2 separate regions of the Homo sapiens genome follow, and region 2 is linked to region 1. The links are contacts of gene promoters, found by promoter capture Hi-C in blood cells and fetal thymus (Javierre and others, 2016). All regions are on one chromosome and are shown on one strand. The core of a region is centred on a gene start or on the middle of the fragment in contact, and the rest is flanking DNA. Distances in the headings are between cores, read along the strand shown. Region 1 holds the start of KMO (kynurenine 3-monooxygenase). Region 2 overlaps OPN3 (opsin 3).

Region 1 (6,306 bases), core at 376-2,875:
GTTCCTGCCTTTCTTTCTGCTCCTTGAACTTGGGCAGCTCATTATTGCCTGAGGGTTTCTCTTCCTGCTGTTCCCTCTGCCTGAAATGCTCTTTCTCAAGATCTTCACGTAGTTAGTTCTATCTGATCATTCAGGTCTCTGGTCACATGTCCCTTCAGCAGAGCAGCTGTCCCTGACCACATTCTAAACAGGTACTCCCAAAGATACTCTCTACAGCACTACCCTGTTTTCGTTTCTTTCATAGTGCTTCTCTTTAACTGAAATTGTCTTATTTGTTTTCTTCTTCCTTGTCTTTTTCTTCTCTGGAATTCTCACCCTCGCATCCCTACTACCTAAAACAATATTGGTACATAGTAATCAGATTTTGTTGAACACATGAATTCTCATTTTGTGCAACATTTTGATAGGACAGATTGGACACAAGCCTAGTATGAAGCAGTGACGACACATGTCCCAACCAGTGACCAACACATCATGTGATAGCATTTCTAAATGAAAATTTAGAATCAGAAATATTAAAAGAACTGTTCTAGCACTTTGGGGAAAAGACACTAAGGAAGGCAGAACAAAAGACAGCATATACTGTATAAATACATGTGTGGCATAAAATATACCATCTATATTCAGCCTAGAACAGTGTTACGCCCTCAATAAATTTTTTGTTGAGTGGATATATGAATAATTAATGAAAAGTCTCCAAATGATTTGACCAAAGGTGATAGGGAAATGATTTAACCTTGACTAACTGGGATGTTTGTATTCTGAAACAGAAATTCTGCTGAGATGGGAAAAAGCAAAGTTGAATCGGAGCAGACCCATGTTAAACAGAACTACCTTTGGCACCATAACTATGAAAGCAGAGAGTGACCTCTCCTTCCGTCTTGTTAGGTATGGGGGAAGCCCCAGCACCTTTACGTCACGTGCTCAGTGAGAGGTGAACACCTCACTCCACTGTCTTAGGTGCTCCACTGGAAGAGTCAAGTAAGTCAGGCGACCACATAAATCTTATTCCCAATTACTCATATAACTAGTGAACATTCAACATGATACTTTGACGTTAGCTTCATGTTTCTTGACCCTTTTATTCTCATTAGACAGCATTAACTGAGTTATTAAACAAAGCGGAACAAATGTTTTTATTAAAATGAATATTGAGACTAATTCCTGTTCCTAAAAACATAGCCAATTTGGGGATAAAATCAAATTCAATTTGCATTATTTTTGCTTTTTAACAAATCCTAAACCAAAATGATGAGGGAAAACAGAAACCTTTGTATTTAATGGCTATAAAATACCTTTCCTGAAAAAGAACAGATTAAAACTCATACTATATTAAATCTATGAAAATAAAAATATTAAAAAAATAAACAAAATAGCTGTATTTAAATATCAGAGTTTTCACAAGAAAATTAACAATTTGCAGAAGTGACGAATAATAATCATTACGAGTAATAATAGTTAATATAATACCACCAACAATAGTAATCCATCTGAAAATTCTTACCAAGCCACCACCAATGACAGCTACTTTTTTCCTTTGAATGACAGATGAGTCCATAACTGCTGAAGTATTTTTCACAATTATTGTTGCTTCTGTCACTGAGTGACACTGATTTCTGTGTCTCCTACACACTGATTTCTCTGAGTTTTTATACTGCCCCAAGCCTAGTGCATTCATGAGCCAGCGGCAATGTTTAGTCAGGGCTAATTTCCCTTGACAGTATTAACCCATTAGTTGGCCAAAGTACAATCAGCTCAGCTCTAAGAAAAAATAAATCCATTACAATAACCAAATTTTTTAAAAAATCCATCCAATTGGAGACACTCTATTTTTTCTATCTTCTGTGTAAGACACAGAAATTTTTAAGCAGTCTTGTGGCTTTTCTTCTTCTTTTTCTACAGCATATATTCTTAGTTTCGTTTTCATTCATGATTAACCATGAATGGAGCCCTTCTCATCTGAAGTCCAAAAACATCTTATACCTCCCTTAGAGAGTAAGATGACATGGTTTCATAATTCATCTGTGGATCATTTTTGTGGTTAAGACCAATCAAAAATTTCATCTAAAGGGTCCTCATGGATTGTTTTTAACAGGCTCTACCAGGGAAAATTCTCTGCAAGGTCTTAATATTCTCCCGATCAACATTTTGAATTGTGTAACTGACCATACTTCCCCTTTTTTTTTTCAGCCCAGATGCTAGAAAATTTAGAATCTAATTTTAGAATCGAAAATTTAGAGTCTAATTACCACTAGGGGAGATGACTGACACAACGCTTCTGTAAACTCATTCCCGACTTCATATTATCTATTCACTTTTTTGTCTTTTTCACTCCGTTTTAAATGTTATACTTTTGTGCATGATTTGCGAATGGCAATTGTTTTCTGGAACATGATGTGGTGTAATGTAAAATAAGAACATAAATGAAGTTGTTTCTTCACTTCCTGTTAAGCACATAAAGAATTCAGAACGTTTTTTTCCCTGGTTAGGAACTAGAGTTAAATGGCATTCAATAGTGACCCCTTGTGGATAAGCATGATTAGGTATTTTATTTATTTTGAATAGGTAATACATTAACATGGCATGAAATTAAAGACACAAAAGAGTACACGGTGAATAGTAATCCTGCTAACCTTGACCCTTGGCCACCTATTCCTCCTGCCCAAAGACAACAACTGTTTTGGTGTGTGGGTTACCGTATTCTTCTACACGTTGATTATGTCTTTCTTGTTCTTCCTCTCTCTCCTTTTCTCTCTCTCTTTCTCTCACTCTCTCATTCCCTTCCTTCCTTTCTTTTTAAACATACATTTAAAAACTTTTTCCACATCATATTTCTCACTTTACAACATATAGCTTGAGAATTCTTCAATATCAATATGTAGAGAATATGTATCAATTCCTCAGTATCAATATGTATCATTGTTAAAAAATCTTTTAAAAATTATGAACTATAACACAAATGAACAGTATAATAAGTTACTGTAAAGCAAGTATCCATGTAACTACCATTTAGGTGCAGAGAGAGAATATTGCCAGAATCCCAGAAGTCTAACGTGCCCCCTGTTAATCACCCCTCCTTCGTAGAGGTAACTGCCATACCAACTTTCTTTGCTTTTATGTATAATTGTACCATGATAGATGCATCCCTAAAATAGTTTAGTGTTGACTTTTTTGAACTTTCCTATAAATGAACTTATACTGTTTATTTTTTTACAACTTGCTTCTTTTTCTCAATATTATATCTCTTAAGATCCATTTGTGTTGTTGCATGTTTTTCCAGTTCATTCATTTTTATCGTCATTTATTATTTGTCCATTGTGCTGTTGATGGACATTTGGGGTGTTTCCAAATTTTTAATATCATGAATAATGGTGTTGCCATAAACACTCTTGTGTATACAATGTCATGTACATATGTATGAGTATCTCTAGGTTTCATATGCTGTTTATGCTTTTTTGTTTGTTTTTTGTTTTTTGGGTTTTTTTGAGATGGAGTCTCACTCTGTCACCCAGGCTGGAGTGCAATGGTGCAATCTCGGCTCACTGCAACCTCTGCCTCCCAGGTTCAACTGATTCTCCTGCCTCAGCCTCCCGAGTAGCTGGGATTACAGGTGCCTGCTACCACGCCTAGCTAATTTTTGTATTTTTTCAGTAGAGATGGGGTTTCACCATGTTGACTAGGCTGGTCTTGAACTCGGCCTCAAGTGGTCCACCCGCCTCAGCCTCCCAAAGTGCTGGAATTACAGATGTGAGTGACTGCGCCCAGCCATGTTTATGCATATTTTTAACCTTTCTGAATAAACGAAAGTTACATTCCAAAGTAGTGCATTAGCTTTTACTTAACACAATGTGTAAAATTTGTCTTCTGCTGTATCCTCACCAATGTATGTATTGCCAAGAATTTTTAATTTTTGCCAGTCTGGTAGATGTGCTTTATATTTCAGTGTTCTTTTAATTTGCAGTCCTTTGATTATCAGTGAAGTTGAGCACATTTTTACCTGTTCATTCACAACTTCTTTTTCTTCTTCTGTATAGGTAGTGTTAATTTTTGGGGGGGGAGGGTGGGAATTTTTTTTTCCTTTTTTGAGTCCCATTGCATATGAACTTTAGTACTTAGATATGTCACAAATAACATTTCATTCACTCTGTGGCTTGCCTTTTTGCTTTCCTAGTGGTGTCTTTTGATGAAAGAATATTCTTCATTTAATACATTCTTTTCCCTTGTGGTTAGAGTTTTTCATGTCATGTTTTATCACTTTTTTTGTATAATCTTGAGGTCATGAGGATATTCTTCCATGTTGACTTCTAAAATAGTTATAATTTACCTTTCATTTTTAGGTCTATGATCAACATGGAGTTAGTTTTTTTGTTTTTGGAATGCTGTGATATAGATGTCAAAATTTTATTTGTTTTCCAAATGAATACCCAATATTCCCTGTACCAATAAATGAAAAGACTTTCCTTTTCCCGCATTGCCTTTGGTGTAGGTCCAGTGTTCATATATGTGTGGGTCTCGTTCCAGGTTTCTATTCTATTTCATTCCATATAGTCTATACTGCCCATACTATACCTACTAATGCCAGTTCCAAAGCCAAATTACAATAGCTTTAATACAATCCTTAATATCTTCATCAATTCACCCACCTTGTCCTTCATTAATAATGTATTGACTATTCTTGGTGCTTTGTATTTCCATCTGTTTTAGAATCAGCCTGTTAATTCCATTTTAAAAATCCCTAAAATAAAAATATGGTTGGGATTTTTGACTGGGATTGCTTCGAAGTTATACATCTATCTGGAAAGAATAACTATTTTGACTACTGCGTCTTTCCATTCAGAATATGATATGCCCCTCCCCACCATCTGTTTGTCATCTCCAAGGCTTACAAAGTTATATTCTTTCCCTGTAGAGGTTTGATCCCCTATTATTATGTTTAGGTAATTGATTTTTTAAATTTTATTGTAAATAATATCTTTCATTTCATTTTCTACTATTAATAGTATTTAGAAACACATTATTTTCCATTTTGTGAGCTTGTATGCAGCAGCATTGCAAAAGTTATTAATTCTATTGATTTTGTCTGTAGATTTTTTGATTTTTCTTTTCACCCAATCGCAATGACAGTCCCTTCCTTCCTTCTTTCCTTCCTTCCTTCATTCCTTTTTGTCTTTCTTTCCTGTTGACTGAATGGTGGATTTTTCTCTTCACCACAATCATGGTAGTTTCTCTCTCTCTCTCTCTCTCTCTCTCTCTCTCTCTCTCTCTCTCTCTCTCTCTCTCTCCCCCTGCTACTGACTGATTGAATGATTCTTTCCATGCTGGCTAGTACCTCCAGTACAGGGTGGAATACAGGTTTATTTCTTAAGTTCCAAATGCATGGCACATCCTAGTTTTCTTATTGTTATTGGTTTTTAGCAAAATTCCAGTGAGGCCAGCTAATATGTGCTATAGATTTTCAAACATGTGAAACGGGTTAAGACTCATTGTATGGCCATAAAGTGGTAAATTTGTGTAAATGCTTTGTGTGTACTTGAAATATATATATATTCAAGTATTTCAGAATATATATATATTATATATATATATATTCTGAAATTAATGTATATATTTTCCTATACATATCCATTAGGTCAAGTTTATTAATCATGTGTTCAAAACTTTTGTATTCTCGCTAACTTTTGGTATGCTTGTTTTGTCAATTACTGAAAAAGGTTATGTTAAATAATCTCACGCTGTGATTGGTATTTGTCTGTTTCTTCAGCATTTCTATCTATATGGAACAATCCACATTTAAAGCTGCTATCCATTACTGGTAAACTAAAGCTTTTATTATTATGAAGCAAATAATTATTTTTGCCTTAAACTTTATTTGATAGTACTATTAGCTTTTATATTTAGGTTAGCATTTACATATTATATCATTTCCAACCTTTTGGTTTCAACTTTCTTTTATTCTTATGTGGCCTTTGTAAACAGCATTCTGTTGAACGTTTTAAAATCCAGTCTAGTCTTTAATCTTTATCTTTTAACTTGAGTCTTCGGCTTTCTGTCGTTTCACTAAGATGTATCTACATAAAAATTTATTTTTATAGATCCTAGCAGGAAATCATTGGGTTGCTTAATAGAGATTGGTTTCTTCCCTTGTCTCTTATCCTTTAATCTGTATTTTCATTGCTTGTCCTTTTGTGCTTCGCTATGGATAGTTATGTTAATGCATTATGTATTTTAATGTATTATTGAATTTCCCAATTCTTTTTTCTACTGTCTAGTCAGCTGATAAACTCATCCATTATGCTCTTAACTTTG
Region 2 (6,713 bases), core at 2,726-5,225, 68 kb before region 1:
TTGTTTGGCGATCACACCAGAGTCATAAAGGGTAAGAACTGACCACAAACAATTTCACGTTGGGTGCCAACAAGAACTTTCCAGTTTGAACTCAAACCCAGTGTGGAACAGGCTCCACTTCCCAGTCTCTAGCTTTGGCCATGGATGTTTCCTTCCTCATTCACTGATTCTTCCAACTCTATTCTCTGCTTCTGTCTCTAGTCTCTTGCTCACTCCGTCAAACCCTTCTAACTTTCACCTTTTTAAAAAATCGGACTTAGCTACATGCATCACTTTAAATCATTTGTTTCTACATTCTTTACATATGCCAACTTTGTTAAAGACAAAATCCCTAGATCAGTTCAATCATCTATTTTCTCTATGCCTGTAGTCAAACTGCAAGGAGGAGCTGGAAAAAAAAAAACAAAACACATCTGTCTACACTTAGATGTCCTCTCAGCCTTGTTCTACCAACCTTTCTATCCCTGTATGTGTGGTCTACTGTCTCCACACTGTGACTATTACACAGACTCATTTCTCATTTTAATTTCTCACCCTACTGTCTCCTCTCATTCTTATCAAGTAAGTCTGCTTCTGATTTATCGGACCAAACAAAGCCATTATCAAGGGTTCCTTTGACTCCTTACCTCTCTTTACACAAACCACTGATTCTTAGGACTCTCTCTTCAGTTACAGGGCGACAGGAGAGGTCTCCCAGGACCAACTCGATTCTGTATTCTGATTGCTCCCCCACCCCCTTCCATGCCCCAGAGACACTTCTTAATAATTTTCTCTTTCCCTTGTATCTTCACACTCTCCCTTACCACTGGCCCTTTCCCTTTAGCATATTACCAGGCTATTTTGTTTTTAATCACAATCTACTCTCAGCTCCCTCTAGCTATCACTTTATTTTTCTCCATTTTGTCACTGCTAACTCAAAGAACCATTGGTGACTCTTGGTGCCACAATGTCACTCACTAAGCATTCATTTACCTGATATTTATTGAGCATATCAAATATGCCAATTTCTTGCTGTTATAGACTGAATGTTTGTGTCCCTCTCAGATTCCTACGTGGAATCTCTAACCACCGATGTGACAGTATTTGGGGATGGGGCCTTGGGAGGTAATTAGGGTCAGAGGAGGTCATGAGGATGGGGCTCTGGTCTGATGGGATTAGGGGATTAGTGTCCTTGTAAGAAGAGACACCAGAAAGCTTGCTCTTTCTCTCTCTCTCTCTATCTCTATCTCTCTCTCTCTGTCTCTCTTTCTGTCTTCCCACGAGTGCATAAATAAGAGAACATGGAAGCACACAGTGAGATAACAGTCAAGAGAGGAGGCCTCAGAATGATACCTACCTTGCCAGCTACTCTACCTGGGACTTCCCAGCCTCCAGAACTGTGAGAAATACATTTCTGTTGTAGTTCAGGGAGTTGGTAGTTTAGTAAGTTTATCTAGCATTCATTCCTCAACTTAAGGCAAACTTGTGACTCCTTCCTCTACCGCACTGCCACTAATACAGCCCTCATTTCAGGTCATTGATGAGCTCCCAGATATGTGATCCCATGGACACATTTTTATTCCTTTCTAGCATCCTCAGCGTTTGAGACTATTGCCAACTTCTACTTTCTTGTGGTGGTCTCCTGCCATCGATTCTAGGGCGCCTTTCTCTGCTGTCTTTGTTGCTGACTCTCTGGCGCCATCTTCTTATCTCTTCCAAGGGCTTCTCTTCTTTGGGCCTCCCCAGCATCCTATGTTTAGCTCTTGTCCCATGCTACACACTGGCCTTGGGTGGTCTTTCATACTGCCAGGATTTCTCCTTCTGACACAAGCTTGATAACATCTCCATTTCCAGTTCAGGTCTTTCTTCCAGCCTCTAACAGATCCTCGTAGTCAATTGCCTCTTGAACACCTCCACTTGGATGGTCCACAGACTCATCAAATTTAACAAATATAAAGATTAATTTGTCATATTTTCCCTAAAATCTTCTGCTCGTCTATTTGCTTTCTCATTGAATAGTCATCATTCCTAGATACCAAGACCAGAAATTAGGGAGTAATCTTTGACTATGTGTCATCCATGTCTCCCCCAACACACAACTATTGATCAGTTCTTATCCATGCCACTTACATGTTTTTTTGTTTCGTTTTGTTTCTGTTTGTTTGTTTGTTTTGTTTTGTTTTGTTTTTTGAGACGAAGTTTTACTCTTATTGCCCAGGCTGGAGTGCAATGGCAGAATCTCGGCTCACTGCAACCTCCGCCTCACAGGTTCAAGCAATTCTCCTGCCTCAGCCTCCTGAGTAGCTGGGATTACAGGTGCCCACCACCATGCCTGGCTAATTTTTAAAATATTTTTAGTAGAGATGGGGTTTCACCATGTTGGCCAGGCTGGTTTCGAACTCCTGACCTCATGATCTGCCCGCCTTGGCCTCCCAAAGTGCTAGGATTACAGGTGTGAGCCACTGCTCCTAGCCCTATATTTTTTGGTATATCCATTTTTTCCTCTCCCACTGCCACAGACTCAGTTAAAAAAAAAAAACTTAGTTCTCCTTTTTAAAATTTTTGCTTTCCTCTATTCCATTCTTTACACACTGCCATCAGAGTAGTTGTTCTCAAGTATTACCTTCAGAAGTTCCACTGTCTTTGTGACTCAAAATAAAGCCCCTGGGTGTGGCCGGCAGGTCCTGTATGGCATCTCCTGTCTACCTGTCCAGCCTCATTTCTTGACACTCCTGTCTTCTTGCCACCTCATGATGCGGCCAATGGTAATATTTCTTGTTTTCAGAAACTGACTTTTTATTTTGCCTCTTGTCTTAGCACACTTTCTTTCTCTGGAACATTCTGTCTCTCCTCCTTACTTGACTAATTCCTCCTTCCCTCACAAGGCTAACAGCACGATTTTCTTGCTCTAACCCACCCTCAGAACCAGTTTCCCATCCTGTGTACTACCATATCCTCCCTGTTTACCTCCCTCATGGCTTCTACCCGCTCAGTGTGCATCATCCTCACCAAATAGTGAATTCCTCAAGAGCAGAGACTGGGTCTTATGTATTTTCTCACCTGTGACTGGAACAGTGTCTGCATGTAGTAGGTAATCAGTGACTATTTTTGGAATGAGTTACAAGCAGAGGGCATAGAAAGGGGAAGACAGGAGAAGGGGTGAAAGTGTGAAGAGATTTGACTTTAGCTGCTATCTAAACAGAGAGCTCACTGCAAGTAATTTGCCTCCGTTTCCTTATTCAGAGAGAGGTGACTCATAACAACGATGGAGACATAGCTACACACTTGAGAATGAAGATTCACAGTGAAATTCTTTGAAAATCTACAGATGTCTTGGATTAAGGAGCACTAGGCACCAGCCATTTATACAGCCAGAGAACAATCTGATAGAGAATTCTGAAGAATTTGTCTTAGCTGGTTCATTCTTTAGGACAAATTTGTGCCTGTGCCAATCATTTCAAAATTGCTTCATCCATAGCAATTTTGAAAACTATCCTCAAATGATTGAATAAAGAGGGTAAGACATGAAATCGAGTTTTTTATTTGGAAAATATTTAATGAGCAGAATGAAGGAATAGAAAGTAATGAAAGAAAGAGGCCTGAAAAAGATAAATAAAAAATAATCATGAAAACTTCACATATATAAACCCAAATAATCTAAAACATTAGTCAATATCTTCTCCTTATCCCAAAGAGGAACTGGGGATGTATAGACAAACATTTATTTAAATTAATTTCCCCAGCATGCATGTAATTCCAAGATGGATAAATGAGTGTTCTCCTTTGATAAATGGCGAGAGGGGATAAAGACTGACCTGCCCAGAAAATGGTACAGATAAAACGATTGGACCTAAATACTGGAGGTTTGGGAGGCAGATAACTGAGATGTGGTTATGTTGCTTGTTAATTGAAACTCTGAAGAGTCAATAATGATTCCAGATATCCTATAGTATCATAAATGTACATATACATACAAGTGTGTTAGTCTCATATCTAGTTCAAATATAAATAAGTATTTAACCTCAAAAACAACCCCACAAAGTCATACGTGTGGAAATGGAACTCAAGTTCTGTTAATTCTCATAGGTTTTTTTGCTTTACCTCCTTTCTTGTTTACTCTTAGAGGAGGTTGTTGACTTGCTCAATATCACACTGCGAGCAAAAGTGGTTAATCTGGGATATAAACTTAGATCTTCTAATTCCAAATCTAGACCTTTTATCAAAACCCCACAGCCTTCCTATAAACTAGGGAAGCTCCCCCAAAATGATGTTTTGAAAATAGAAAAATATTCTATCCCATTAAATAAAACAGTTTCTTTTAAAATAGAATTGCACACACAGAATAGTAGTATTCGGTTGGTGCAAAAGTAATTGCGGTTTTTGCCGTTAAAGGTAAACCTTTAAAGGTAACCTTTTTTAAAGGTAAATTATTTACCTTTCTGCACACCAAAAATATGTTCCTAAATAAAAATAGTTATCTCTGAACATTGTAATAAGTTATATGAATTTTACTACAAAAATACAAATACTTTATATATTGATTTTTTAAAGTAATTGGCATAGTGGTAAAGGAATATTATTTACCTTTAAATAAGGTGACCTTCAAAGGTTTACCTTTAATGGCAAAAACCACAATTACTTTTGCACCAAACTAATACCAGAAATTTAATACCCACTTTTCCCTGCACATAGTCTCTCTACCCTAAAAAAATCAATGATTTAAATTTTTCCTATTTCTCTCTATTCTTTGCTAATCTGAATACATGATTTTGATAAGAATATAATTTCTTAAATATAATTTTGGATATCAGTAATTTGAGAATTTTAATTAAAATATATTTCTAAATAATCTAAGCACATGTTCTAAATGATTTCTTTGGAAATTCTTTCTCTTAATTTTTATGATAATGCTAGAACCAAAAGGTACACTTAGAGTTCATTGAAATGCAGTAAATTTCCAGGCATAAAGTAATCAATACTAAGTATTAACTATATGCTAACTACTTAAAAAATCAATATATAGAGTATTTGTATTTTTGTAGTATAATTCATATAACTTATTACAATGTTTAGAGAGAACTATTTTGATTTAGGAACACATTTTTGGTGTGCAGAAATATTCTTTGCCTGTGTATTATTATGACACATATATAATAATAGGAGAAACAGCAAAAAGAAACATATTCAAGAAACTCAAAGAACTTTCAGGCTGTACATCATTACTCCTCCATCCCTTTAATGGGAACAGACTGCGAGTAGACAGGCTGGTTTTAGAGGAAGGAGTTGTTTTACCAAGTGCTGTTCTCTGCAAGTGATCCCCTAATGAAGCCAATCACAAACAAATTTCTCCTGAAATTCTACTTTACAGTCATTAGCAGTGAATTGAAAAGCTGGTTTTCAGTAAGAATTCACTTGGGAATTAAGTGCTCATCAAGGCCAGCTGCAGGCTTAATCATGCAGAACACCTGACATGACATGGGTGTGCAGTCTGATTTGAGAACTGGAGGACTAACACTCTATAGAGTTTCCAGGATCACAGGGAAATTCTTTGCATTTTATCGTGACTCTCTCAGGCTGTCTTTTAGAGACTTGAAGATCTAGGCAAAATAATGTTATTCTTATTAAGTAAATAAGAGAACGTCAAAAAAAACACTGAAGGATGTAGGAGGCTCTGTAGCTCAACCACCCTATGTTGTAAGTGGGGAGACTGAGGCCCGGCAAGGTTAAAGCTGGACTCAGCTATGAGTCTTGGATCAGAAGTCAGCCTGCCAAGGTGCCATTCAGTTCTCTTTCCATTTAGGTGGGGCCAAGAATGGTGTCTGAATATCTGTTATAAAAACAACAAAAGAAACCCTTCTTTTGTTTTTTAAGCCCTTTCCTTTCTTTCTCCTTTCTGCAGCTTCGTTGTGTGGAAGATCTTCAGACAATTCAAGTGATCAAGATTTTAAAATATGAAAAGAAACTGGCCAAAATGTGCTTTTTAATGATATTCACCTTCCTGGTCTGTTGGATGCCTTATATCGTGATCTGCTTCTTGGTGGTTAATGGTCATGGTCACCTGGTCACTCCAACAATATCTATTGTTTCGTACCTCTTTGCTAAATCGAACACTGTATACAATCCAGTGATTTATGTCTTCATGATCAGAAAGGTAAGCTTTGCAATTAACTGATTGTTTTCACCCTGGGCATAGAGTTGGAAATGACAGTGTAATACTTTTACAGAGGTGATTCAGAGTCGCTTCAATTAAAAAAAAAACAAGAATTTTTTAGGAATTAAAGGGATCTGGAAGAAATGTAGAATATTTCCAAAGAAAATCATAACAATTCTAAGAACTACCCATAGGGATTCACACTTGTTAGGTAGAATTCTAGTAAAACTAATATTTAATTCATCAGAAAATAGTTTATGCCTAGTAATAACAGCTACAATGTTAATAATACATTTAAAATTCCTACTGTACCAAGCAAGTTACAAGCAAGTCACAAACAAGTTACAAGCCAGTTTACAAAACTCCACAAAATAGGCACTAATATTATTCCTTGTTTTATTTATGGGTTATGAATAAGTTCAGAGAAGTTAAATAACTTGCCCAATCCAGGAAGTATTGGTGCCAGGATTTGAACCTAGTTTGCTCAAATCCCCAAATCCAGTGCTTATAACTCCTCACTTGGGGTTATAGATACTTGTAGCAATTGGCCTGGGTTGTTATTCACATGCCACAGCAAATGTCT

What was found. The method cuts DNA at HindIII sites, captures the fragments that hold promoters and counts their contacts. A CHiCAGO score of 5 or more calls a contact.
Region 2: a contact is called between a fragment that was not itself captured here and the fragment with the promoter of KMO in region 1, in 4 of 17 cell types (monocytes, M0 macrophages, M2 macrophages and 1 more). The highest score is 9.2, in monocytes.

The regions. Positions count from the first base shown.
Region 1 is chr1:241,527,697-241,534,002 of GRCh38, reverse strand. It overlaps KMO (kynurenine 3-monooxygenase), which reads right to left and starts at 1,625. Exons shown (of 15, transcript NM_003679.5): 1 at 1,505-1,625. The coding sequence starts at 1,558. RefSeq lists an enhancer at 1,893-2,042. The HindIII fragment of the contact is 7,761 bases long and covers 1-5,825 here.
Region 2 is chr1:241,597,163-241,603,875 of GRCh38, reverse strand. OPN3 (opsin 3) reads left to right here. Exons shown (of 4, transcript NM_014322.3): 3 at 5,879-6,130. Among named protein-coding and RNA genes, the nearest start is that of CHML, 40 kb to the left of the region's middle. The HindIII fragment of the contact is 4,325 bases long and covers 1,813-6,137 here.